Linked DNA regions of Homo sapiens: region 1 is linked to region 2. Evidence: promoter capture Hi-C in human tissues and cell types (Jung and others, 2019). All regions are on one chromosome and are shown on one strand. The core of a region is centred on a gene start or on the middle of the fragment in contact, and the rest is flanking DNA. Distances in the headings are between cores, read along the strand shown.

Region 1 (5,714 bases), core at 328-2,827, 760 kb before region 2:
CTGTTGAATGTGTCTGGCTAAGTTTTTGTCTCCCACCTCTAGAAAAAGGTAGTGACACTATTATTGCTCACGGTGCCAGGGTTCTTCCTAGCCCATTTGTGTTGAAACCATATAGAACTGCTTGTCTCTGCAGTTCCCAAGAACAACTTCATCCTGACTCTCTGGATACTCATGATGCTGCATCCTCCATCCTTTTGCCCTGAAGACTGGCTTCCAAAGATTCTTACTGTGCTTCATAGAAGATGACCACAAATGCAAGAAAATGTGTTTTCTGCTCATGTTCAGCTTATTGTTTTTCCCCTCATGTATTTTTTTTTTGAAGACTTTGTTTGCTAGATCACTTTATTCCAAGAATGGAATCTCTTTCAAAGCTGACCACACCCTTGCCTCTGCCCACCACCACCAGCAGGAAAGATAGGCCAGCTTGAAGGCAAATGAGGAGAGCAGTGCTGTTCAGAAGCCTGGCGTCCCTACACCAGCGGAGGCAGGAGAGGTCGTCGATTAGAGGTGCCTGTTGAAGTTGCTGGGCAGCAGTCCGGAAAGCCCTTAGAGATGGATAGCCACTCCTGGAGGACGGCCTGACGTGGGGAGCCTGGGGAGGAGGGGAGATCACAGCCCTCTGTCAGCAGGAGAGGGCAGAGGCTGAAAGTGTGACTGAGGGAGCAGGTGTGGATTAGAAAGAATAAGAAGAATGAACAGAAACAGGAAGGACTGGGTGGGTATGGAAGAGATAGCTAATGTGTACCCTTCCCCAGCCAAAGCTGACTTGAGTTTCCAAGGGTTTTTGGAGAGCGATTGCCAAAGCTCTTACCTCCAGCATTTCCAATTCTCTTCCTGTGTGGAATATCCCAAATGGAGTAGAAACGCTGGGCTTCAGAGGCAGACCCTGCAGTCATTTCTGCTGAGCCAGATGTTTCTGAGGGCCCACAGCTTCATGTATCTTGAGGGCTGGCACAAGATATTTTATAAGGAGATGTTGAGTGTCTCCATTTCCACATAGCAGAGTAGGGAAATCCTCAAAACCTTGTCAGTAGGCCGAATCCGTCGTTGCACAAATGGTGCTATGAGAGTCCTCACACCTGGAGCCTGGTGCACAGAAGGGCTGCATGTGCTTCCCCATCTTCCCTCCCTCCATTGCAATAATCAAGCAGCCCTACCTACATGCTGGGTCTTTCCATTTTTATCGAATTGCAAGAAAATATTTCAAAGAATTTTCTCCTATGGGAAGAATTAAGCAAAAAAGGTCTTTCACTCCTCAGAAACAGCTTTGTTGTTTGCTTGGGATTTCATTTCATTTAAACAAACTTGTTTCAAAAATGAATACAATTTTTGTTCCACATAGCATTTTCATTCTTTTATTTTTTTGAAACGGAGTCTCGTTCTGTCACCCCAGGCTGGATGAAGTGCAGTGGTGCAATCTCAGCTCACTGCAACATCTGTCTCCAGGATTCAGATGACTCTCCTGCCTCAGCCTCCCAAGCAGCTGGGATTACAGGCACGCACCACCACAGCTGGCTAAATTTTGTATTTTTAGTAGAGATGGGGTTTCACCGTGCTGGTCAGACTGGTCTTGAATTCCTGACTTCAAGTGATCCCCCTGCCTCAGCCTCCTAAAGTGCTGGGATTACAGGTGTGAGTCACTGTGCCTGGCCAGCATTTTTATTTTAATATTTAAAAATTAACTGGGGTTCTCCAGAGAGGGCCCCACCGCATACCCTGGGGGAAGGAATGCTGACCTTGCGAAGCTTCCATTAAAGCCCAAGAGGATGGAGTTTGGAGAGCTTCTGGATAGCTGAACACAGGGAGGTTCCTGTAGAGTGATGCGCCCAGGGAGGGCATGGAAGCTCTGTGCCCCTTCCCTGGTACCTTGCCCTATGTGTCTCTTCGTCTTTGTCCTTTGTAAGTCCTTTATAATAAACCTGTAAACATTAAAAAAGAAAAACTGGTGTTTTGCAGTAATGTATTGGAAACACTAGATGTCAGGAGAGAACAAGCTAACCTAATGTTTAGCTGGTTGTGTTTGCGTTCAATTATTTAGAATAATAGATTTCAGGAAATTGTTAGAAACCTAAGGAATATTTACCAGTAAATTATATTTATTAAATATTGTATTTAATTTATTTAAATATATATTTATTTAAATATAAACATAAACATAGACTTACACCTAATACTGGATATTTTCCATTCTGATCTATGAGGAGGTCCTGATGACTCGATAAAAACACTTTTAAGCATCTATTAAGGGCCAGGTGCTATCATGTATATAAATCTGTAGATTGTACATACAATTCCAATTTTCTTTCCCCTGATGCTTAACTGGCCAAAATCTAGGCTAGCAGAGTGTTTCTTTGGGTGGGTGAAGAAAGAATCAACACCTCATATAATGAGAGATGCTTCTGGGAAAGCTTGCAGGGAAGGTACCAAATTAATCAAGCATTCCTTGGTCATTTCTAAGGATGTGGGCAGGAGAAGTGCTTCAAATGAACATGAACTTGGTTTGCATTTTTCTTTTTCTATAGCATAAGGTTTCTCAACATAATGTACTCTAAATCTTGTCATGGTTTCCCCTCCAAATTCAAGGGAAAGTTTCTAATCATTAGCTTTCTTGTTGAACTTGTTCCTTTTTGCATAAATTTGGCATGCTTTTAGGCTTCCAGTTCTCTGACATTTGTTATAATTTCTCATAATCTTAATTTAAAGCCAGTTTGTTTCATAGCATAGATCCCTTTAGAATTTTACAATAACACTGTAACATCTTTTGCTATAGTTCAGCATTCAAGTTAATCCCAGAAGTTTTTCAGGGAGAAACTCAAGGTTTTGAGGGAATTAGAGAATCTCAGAATGGAAGAGAATTTAGATGATCACACTGGGTAGTGGGAAGACTGTATTTTCATTAATGAAGCTTACATAGTATTTGTTTTAGACCAGTCACGTCACTCCTGGATTATTACAATGAACTGTTCACAAACTAAGAATTGCAATTCTTTCTTAACCAGTTTGTATGTCATACCTTCCATCCAGCTTCCCAGTGGAGAAGAGTGGACAGGTGCACCAGAAGTCAGGATGCCAAGGGTCATGTTTTATGTGTGCCATTTACTAACTGTGTAACATTAGCCATGAAAGCTTCTATTTATATTCTGCATACTTTGAGTCCTTTAAAATTGTCCTTCGTTTTTAAACTGAGAAAAGATGCTTTTTATTTTATAGTCTCTGATAATCTAAAAAATTATTTCATACACTTTTAATAAAATTAATAATTTGTACAATAAGTGTTCAACTTGAGCAGCTAGAAGAGCAATTTTACTTTGCCAATAGTTAAAACTATCCTTTCTCTTTCAGTTTTGTAAAATGAAGTGAGGATGGGAATTTGCATTTTTTTCTTCTCTAGTTAAAAGAATCTAAATTACTTGGTTCCTCTTTGCTCGTCTCTACCCAAGGACAAAGGAGCTAACAAATAATGTATGCGAATCTGTTAGTATAATTAAATATAATGATTGACCCCAGTTTTGAGGGAAAATAGCCACATAAAACAAGATTTCAACTTAGAATAGACTTCAGAACAATAACAATGTAACGATGATAATAAAAAATTGAATTAAGGAAGTCCTTTTGTTATTTCCCCTTGGCCTATTTTCACACAGTTGCAAATACAGTTTGTGTTCTGCTCCTTTTACTTAACTAGATCAAAAGCACGTTTCCTCATTGCTGCAGGGCCGCCTGAGCTGCTGGGTCTTTACCCTCTGGGAGGGTTGAATTGCCCTGCCGAGTGACTAAGCTCAGCAGGCTAGGATTGGTCACTGTAGGAGGTGGATCCAGGGTGCAGACAGGTCAGGAATTCTACTTTTATGGCCCAAAGTGGGGCAGGGAAGCAGATCCAAGTCAAAGTCCACCTGCGGAATCAAAGTGCAAGAGCCAAAAGGACCAGAGCAATTTAGTAACGGGACAATGGAGTCTGGAATTAGGAACGGAACTGAAGAAAGCTTGACATGCAAGCAAGTTCCCACAAGCCAAGAGAGTCCAGGACAAGTGCCCCAGTGTCTGATGGAGATCGCAACTTACTTTATGGTGTTCAGAAGGGTGACTAGGGGCTTGTCTCTCTGTCTTGGAGATACACTATCAAGAATTACACTTTAAAAAATTTTCAACGACTGCAAGACATGCCATCTGGAAAAGCTGCCAAACACTTGCCTCCTTTGGGCATGAAGGATGGTTCCTTTAAAGCCAACACAGACTGACGGAAACCCTGCTTCTTCCAACATTCAGGTGCAGGCTCCCTGTTGAGGCCTCCTGGGTTAGAATTGCTCTAGGCCACCAGCCACTGCATACCCCAGACCTCTTCTCTTCCACGCTCTCCCTGGTCTCTCCCCCAGAAGGGGTTTGATATGCAGGATTTTTTTCTTATCCAGCACTCTTGGGTGTGTGGATCTTTGGGGTGATTTGACTGGCTTTGTAATTAACTGAGTAATGTAAAAGTTCAGACTGCAGCCCCAGCCTCGGGCTCAGCTGCGCCAGTGTTTGCTGCCTTGTGGTTAGAACATGACTGAGAGCAGAACATTACCACATGTGGGGAAGACTGGACTGCCCAGCCCAGCATTCACTGGGTAAGTTTAGTTCAGGCAGAAGTGGTGAGAGACCTCATTTTGGCCTTGTGCTTAAGCAGTGCAGCTTTACAGAACAAGAAAATTGGCCAAGCATCGGGGCTCATGCCTGTAATCCCAGCAGTTTCGGAGGCTGAGGCATGAGGATTGTTTGAGCCCAGGAATTTGAAACCAGCCTGGGCAATAGAGCGAGACTCTGTCTCTATTTAAGAAGAAAAAAAAAAGAGCAAGAAACTGATTACTGCATTTGAATCCTCTCCCCTGTGTATAGAAAAAACAAAACAAAACAAATAAACAAACAAAATAAACCCCTGAAGGACCAGGCTTCCTGAGAGTCCTTAATACCTGCACAAAAACAAGCTGCATAAAAGTCCTTGCTCCCCTTTACCTTGGGCTTTGGCTTAAAATCCTTCTGAAAATGAGGTCCGCTGCAGTGGCCTAATGTTGCTGCAGCTTCCTGGAGCTGGACCTCACTGCCTTCTTCAGCATACCCTCAGTGTGCCTATCAATGCTTCCCCTGGCTGGCAGGGGCCTCATTTGCAGTGTCTGCCAGGCTCAGTTCCATGTTCATCTAGTCCTCCCACAGGAAGGGGTTCCAAGTCCAGATTGAGGGAATGCTAACCTTAGGACATCAAGCGGTTTCAGAAGCTCTTGTTTGTTGTGCAACAACTCTATGTTCTCCTAGTTTAGTGGTTTAAAATAACCATTTTATTTAGCTTCTGATGCCGTGGGACCACTGGGCAGTCCTTGTCGTCTGGGCTGGCAGCAGACAGACAACCATGTGTCCTTCCTGAGACCCAAATCCTCCCAGGATAAGCATATGAGATGCTGAAAGCATCGCGAGGGGGTTGATTCCTTTTGTATCCATAAGATGTCTTTGTCCAAGCGTTGAGCCAGTTAGATACCACGGACCCCTGAAAACACTGAGACAAGACTGCTCAAATTTGCCAGCTTGGAAGGAAGCTGACACTGCCCATGAGCCCCTTTTAAAATGTAGATTTTATTTTTTATTTAGGTATGGTGAGGCCAACAGATCAGGAGACAACTGCCATTGAAATGATAGTTTATTAGAGTTTCCAGGAGGAGGGGGGCAGGTCAGCCACCCATGCAGGC
Region 2 (4,996 bases), core at 266-2,765:
TTAAAAAGTCACTGATTTCAAACCTACGAATACATAAATTATGCATGCATTATGTGAACAATGAAGGGCACATCCAAAGTGAGGTTTTCATGGGAGACTGGAACACTGAGGCAAGAGAAAAGTGAAAACATTCTAAAGCCTTCATGTAAACAAGGACTAACTACTAAAAAGCACGATTTTATCCCTCAGTTAATAAGTCTTGCAAGGGATGACATTACTAAGTAAAGTTCATTGCAAGCTTTTTCCTCTCACTTGTCAAAATATACTAGTTTATATTTGTGACTCGAAAAAAAATACAATGCTTGGAAGAAAGCTTGGCAGAGCACTCAGAATCTGTCTGAAGTATAACGCAAGGGAGATGTCTATTAATCTCTCACACACAAAAGTCTGACTCAAAAGGTCTGTGGCCTTGACCTCAAGTGACCATGGAATAGACCACAGAGCCAGTCCAGGATCCAAAGGGATTAAGAGGAGCATTTGCTCTGCTCTGAAAGGGCCTTTTTTCCCCACTCTAGTTTCTAACTTCCCATTACACACACTCCCTCTGCAAGGCACCGCGCCAATGGAGCCGGTTCACTCTGTTCTCTCCTTGATGACAGCTGTCAGTCTGTCGCCGCCTGAACATGCAACATTTCAACAAAATCCAAAGCGGAACTGGAAGGGCAGGGGCTGAAGCACACAGCCTGATCTCCTTCCTGGAGGTCCCAGACTCCTTAACCATCACTTTTCAACCTGCTTAAGGTTAGAACCACCTCACTCTTCACTAACAGAGTTGAGGCAGCTTCTGTCTCCTCAGAACCTGGGCATTCCCACACAGTGTAATTAAGCAACATTCCTGGAAATCATCCTAAGAAGAAAGAGCCCGCAAGTCCCCGTGTAACTTCAGCACGAACGCGGAGGGTGCTAAACCAGGTATCGGATCAAGGGGCGGGAAAATCCCTCACTCCGCCGGCTCCTGGCCCCTGGACCGCGTGGCGACGCCCGGCGGGAGCGCGGCGAACCCCAGCGCATGGGACCGGGGGTGAGACCGCGCCCTCCTGCAGGGCAGGGGCGACCTGGCGAGTGCCCGCGGCTGGAGAGCAGTGCGAGCCCAGCCAGGCGGTGGGGAGGGTGGGAGGCGGGCGGAGCGCCCTGTTCACCCGTTCGCCCCTTGCCGGGAGCTGCGGAACCGCAGAGGGAGTCGCAGAGGCCGGTCCTGGAGCAGGGACCTGTCCTGGGGCAGGGGCCCTCGGGGCACTCACCAACTGCAGCGCGCAGAGGCAGATGAGCGAGCAGCGTCCGGTGCAGCAGCCCATGGTGCCGGCGGCGTCCGAGCGGCGCTGACTGCCAGAGATCCTCGTCCTCCGCCGCTGCTGCCTCCTGACTCCGGAGTAGTCCCCGCCCGGCCCGGCCCAGGCTCCTCGGCCCCGCGGCCGCCGCTCGCGGCTCCAGGGCTCGGGGCTCGCGCCCGCCTTTGTTAGTTTCCCGGCGGGGCGGGCCGAGGTCAGTGCGGTGCGCACGACCCGAGCGTCTGGCGGGGGTCCCTGCGTCCCACTGTGCAGGTCTGTTTCTTGGGGAGGGGGAGCCAGGCGGGCGGGGCGGGGGGTTGGAAGGAGGCTACAGATGGCGAGTGGGTGAATGTCTGTTTAGGGGAGGGGAGTATGTAGGAGGTGGGCGTCTGGAAAGTGGAGTGGGCTGTCTGGGTCCGGGTGTGTGTGTGTGTGTGTGTGTGTGGTGGGAAGGGAAGAATGAAAGGGAGTGCCGCTGGGGAGGATCGGCCTGTCTAGTTAAGAGTCTTTGGGGAGAAAGGAAGAGGGACAGAGAGAAAAGAGAATGAATATGAATGAGCGTGAATTAGGGCGGCCGGCGGCGATGGAGACCCTCGTTGACCGGTGTAACTGGGTAGACCCAGCTGGGCTTTCTTGCTGAGGGTTGTGCTGGGGGTTGGGAGGGTGGTCGGACGCGTTTGCAAGGGAGGGGACACGGCTTAGTTGAGCTGCCCCAGAGGTGGCGAGGATGGGAGTTGGGTTAGCTTGGGTTCCGGGGAGGAAGGGCCGGGACGCGAGACACCCAGGGTGGGCGGGCGCCGGGGAGCGCAAGGCCCAGCTCCGGAACCTGCCCGGATGCGAGGGGGCCCGCGGGCGCTGCGCGGGCAAGTCTGTTGAGCCGGCGCTGGGCACGCAGCTCGGGGGTCTCCCATCCGAGCTTGCTTCTGCCCGCCACAGCCGGTTGCCTGGAGGGCGCCCCTGCTGGAGTCTGAAAGGGAAAGTTGGACAGAGTTGGGTGGCAAGGGGCGCTGCGGCGGAGCGATGCACCCGCCCAGGGCGCCGGGACTAGCCAGGACGCCGCGGGGAGACCTGGCTTAAGGTTCTTTTCTCACATACCCTTTGAAATCCTCACCGGGAGGGAGAAAAGAGAAGTCGAGGAAGAAGAAGATGCGTAGCTTTTTCTAGAAATGGAGAAGGTTTCCGGAATAGGTATAAATATATCTTCACAGAAATAAATTGAGAAGGATTTGGAAAGAAGATCTCGGATAGTTAAGATACGGACAAACTCTCTCTGAATCCTGTGGAAACTCTCCTGCTCTCTCCCACCTAATAAAACAGAGCGGAGGCGTTCTGCAGAGGATGAAATTTCATCAGGGCTCAAAGACAGATTTTATGGGCGCATTTGTTGTACCTGGTGGAACTGCGCAAGGAGCTCAAAAGCACACCAGAACAGGGAACAAGCCTGCAGGCCAATTATCTCAGAAAAGGCTGTTTTCAGAATTTGGCACAGAAACCCTGTTTCTAGCCCACTGCTGCCCTCCTGGGTTCTTGGCGGTAGGTTGGTAAGAAAAGGCAAGACATCTTTGCGTTTTTAATACTTCCACTCCAGACATGGAAACTGCTCAAGCCGTTAGTTCAGGCGTTAAAAGCAGTCCTGTTTTTATTTTTATCCTTTCTGAAACGTTTCTTCAGGATCTATGTTTATAATTTAAGACGGTTATCATTCCCAAGGAAGTCTGCACATCTTTGAAATTCTAGTAGGGACACATGAATAACCTCAGGATTTGGGTTATTAAAAGGGTCAAGAACATTCATTGTTTACATTCCACCTCTGATATTATCATGGAGACAGGAGAAGTCCAGTCAGAACTCCTCCTCCTTTTTTAATTCAAGCGTTAAGACATCAGTGATCAAGGATCATGTGAGCACGCTGCCTTTATGCACAATCCACGTACTCGTCATCATTCTTTATGGATGAAAACAATAGAAAAAAATGAACACTGACAAATAAGTAGTTTAGCATGTAGAAAAGGACATTGCAGAACATCTCAGGCCATTGACCCCTCTAAAAGCTGTAGGAAGCAGCTGAAAAGTGAGAGGACATGAACAAGTCTTCTATCTATAACTTCCAGAAATTGTTGTAACCTTTTCATCTCCAGAGACTGTGATGAATGATGGTAATAAAAATACTGACACTTCCTTCTCTCCAAATTACATATGTTTACCCCAGTATACTTTGTCATGATTTTATTTATTTAGGAAGTACCATATTAGCAGCTAACTTGCACTGGGTCCTTGCCAGGTGCCATACACCCATCTAAGTACTTTATGTGTGTTCACTCATTTAATCATCACTGCAACCTCATTGGGGTGGGTGCTGTGAGCATCATCACTGAAAAGATAGGGAAACAGGAGGAGAGGCTCCCCTGGCTGCTAAACCAGGAAGAGGAATACAAAGCCAGGGAATTTGACTCTAGAGCTCCTGGATTTACATATTCCCTGTGCTGCCTCTGAAACTTGGGACACAAATAGCAGTTACCCACAGGGAAGCTAACTGTTCCCTCATAAGCAGGTGTAATAATGTACATTGATCTAACATTCAGAGTTAGTACCACCCATGTGGTATGATTTTAGGAGACCAGGAGGGTCCCTTGTACCTCTCCCTTTCCCATTGCTGCCTTTACTGATAGCCTCAAATTGGAGTTTCTTCCTTGTGTAATTTAAGATGTTGAAAAATGCATTTGTACTAAATGCATTTAAATAAGAAACAAAGATAACACAATGCTAATAAGAAGTCTAGAAATTGTGTGAAGCTACCTTCATTTTTCTCTGCAATCTCTTATTCTCATTTTCTAAATTGTATTACATCCAGAACTAAAAATCTTTCTCCCTTCCTTTTTTTCCTTCTTTTCTCCATCCTTCCCTCAAATACTTCTTACAAGTTCACTTCTTAATTGCTTCTATGCAAAGGGCTGTGCTAGTTGCCTACTCTGCAAAGGTAAATGATACCACTCCCTCTCTTCCCCTCAAGGACTTACAGGTGGGAAGGGAGAGCAGATGCAGGCATAAAGTAGCACTCCCTCTGAAAGAGGTTAGTGCCGACTGCTGTCATTAAGTTTTCTTCCTATGAGAGTTAGAGAAGGTTTAAAAGAGGAATTACCAGTCTCTTGGGGAGAGGAAATGAGACTAAAAAATGACAGAGCAATGGAAAGGATGCGGCCTGGACAGGAGTTGGGTAAAACCAACTGGAGAGGAAATAATCTAAGTAGAACAGCCCATCAGCTATATGGCTGTTCATGCTGCTTCTTGGCCATAGAATCTCAGAGAAGCCATTTTGCTCCCCTGTGAGCCCTGTTTTCCCCATACATAAAGTGGGTGTGATAAAAATGACTTGCCCCAGAGGGCTAAGCCTTAGCATTTGCCCCTTGCCTGTCTCTGTGGAGTTTACAGCCTTGGCTTATGCAGGTCTCAGCCTCATGTCACATCCCATGGAGGCCTTTACTTAACAGGCCTTCTAAAATAATACTCCAGTCACTCTATTTTTCTTCAAACTGATTGTTTGCTTACTGTATGATTTCCTGTCTCCCCAACTCAAATACAAAGCTGTTTCCCCAGTGCTTATAACAGTAGTTAAATTCAATATTTGTTGCATGAAGAACAATATGTGTACATTTTTAGCATAATACTTCACACATCATGTTGAACATTATATGTGCACATATATAGTATGTAGTGAGTATTAAATATAT

Evidence for each region. Contacts are between HindIII fragments. The study calls those that stand out against the background at their distance.
Region 1: a contact is called between a fragment that was not itself captured here and the fragment with the promoter of NKAIN3 in region 2, in 1 of the 25 tissues and cell types used here (dorsolateral prefrontal cortex).

The regions. Positions count from the first base shown.
Region 1 is chr8:63,008,192-63,013,905 of GRCh38, reverse strand. It overlaps LOC107986946 (a long non-coding RNA gene), which reads right to left and starts at 5,543. Exons shown (of 4, transcript XR_001745930.2): 1 at 4,990-5,543; 2 at 1,737-1,919; 3 at 812-948. RefSeq lists a silencer at 3,750-3,809 and an enhancer at 3,455-4,087. The HindIII fragment of the contact is 3,957 bases long and covers 1-3,555 here.
Region 2 is chr8:62,245,373-62,250,368 of GRCh38, reverse strand. It overlaps NKAIN3 (sodium/potassium transporting ATPase interacting 3), which reads right to left and starts at 1,515. Exons shown (of 7, transcript NM_001304533.3): 1 at 1,242-1,515. The coding sequence starts at 1,295. LOC124901952 (a long non-coding RNA gene) reads left to right here. Exons shown (of 2, transcript XR_007060932.1): 1 at 1-912. The HindIII fragment of the contact is 6,824 bases long and covers 1-4,996 here.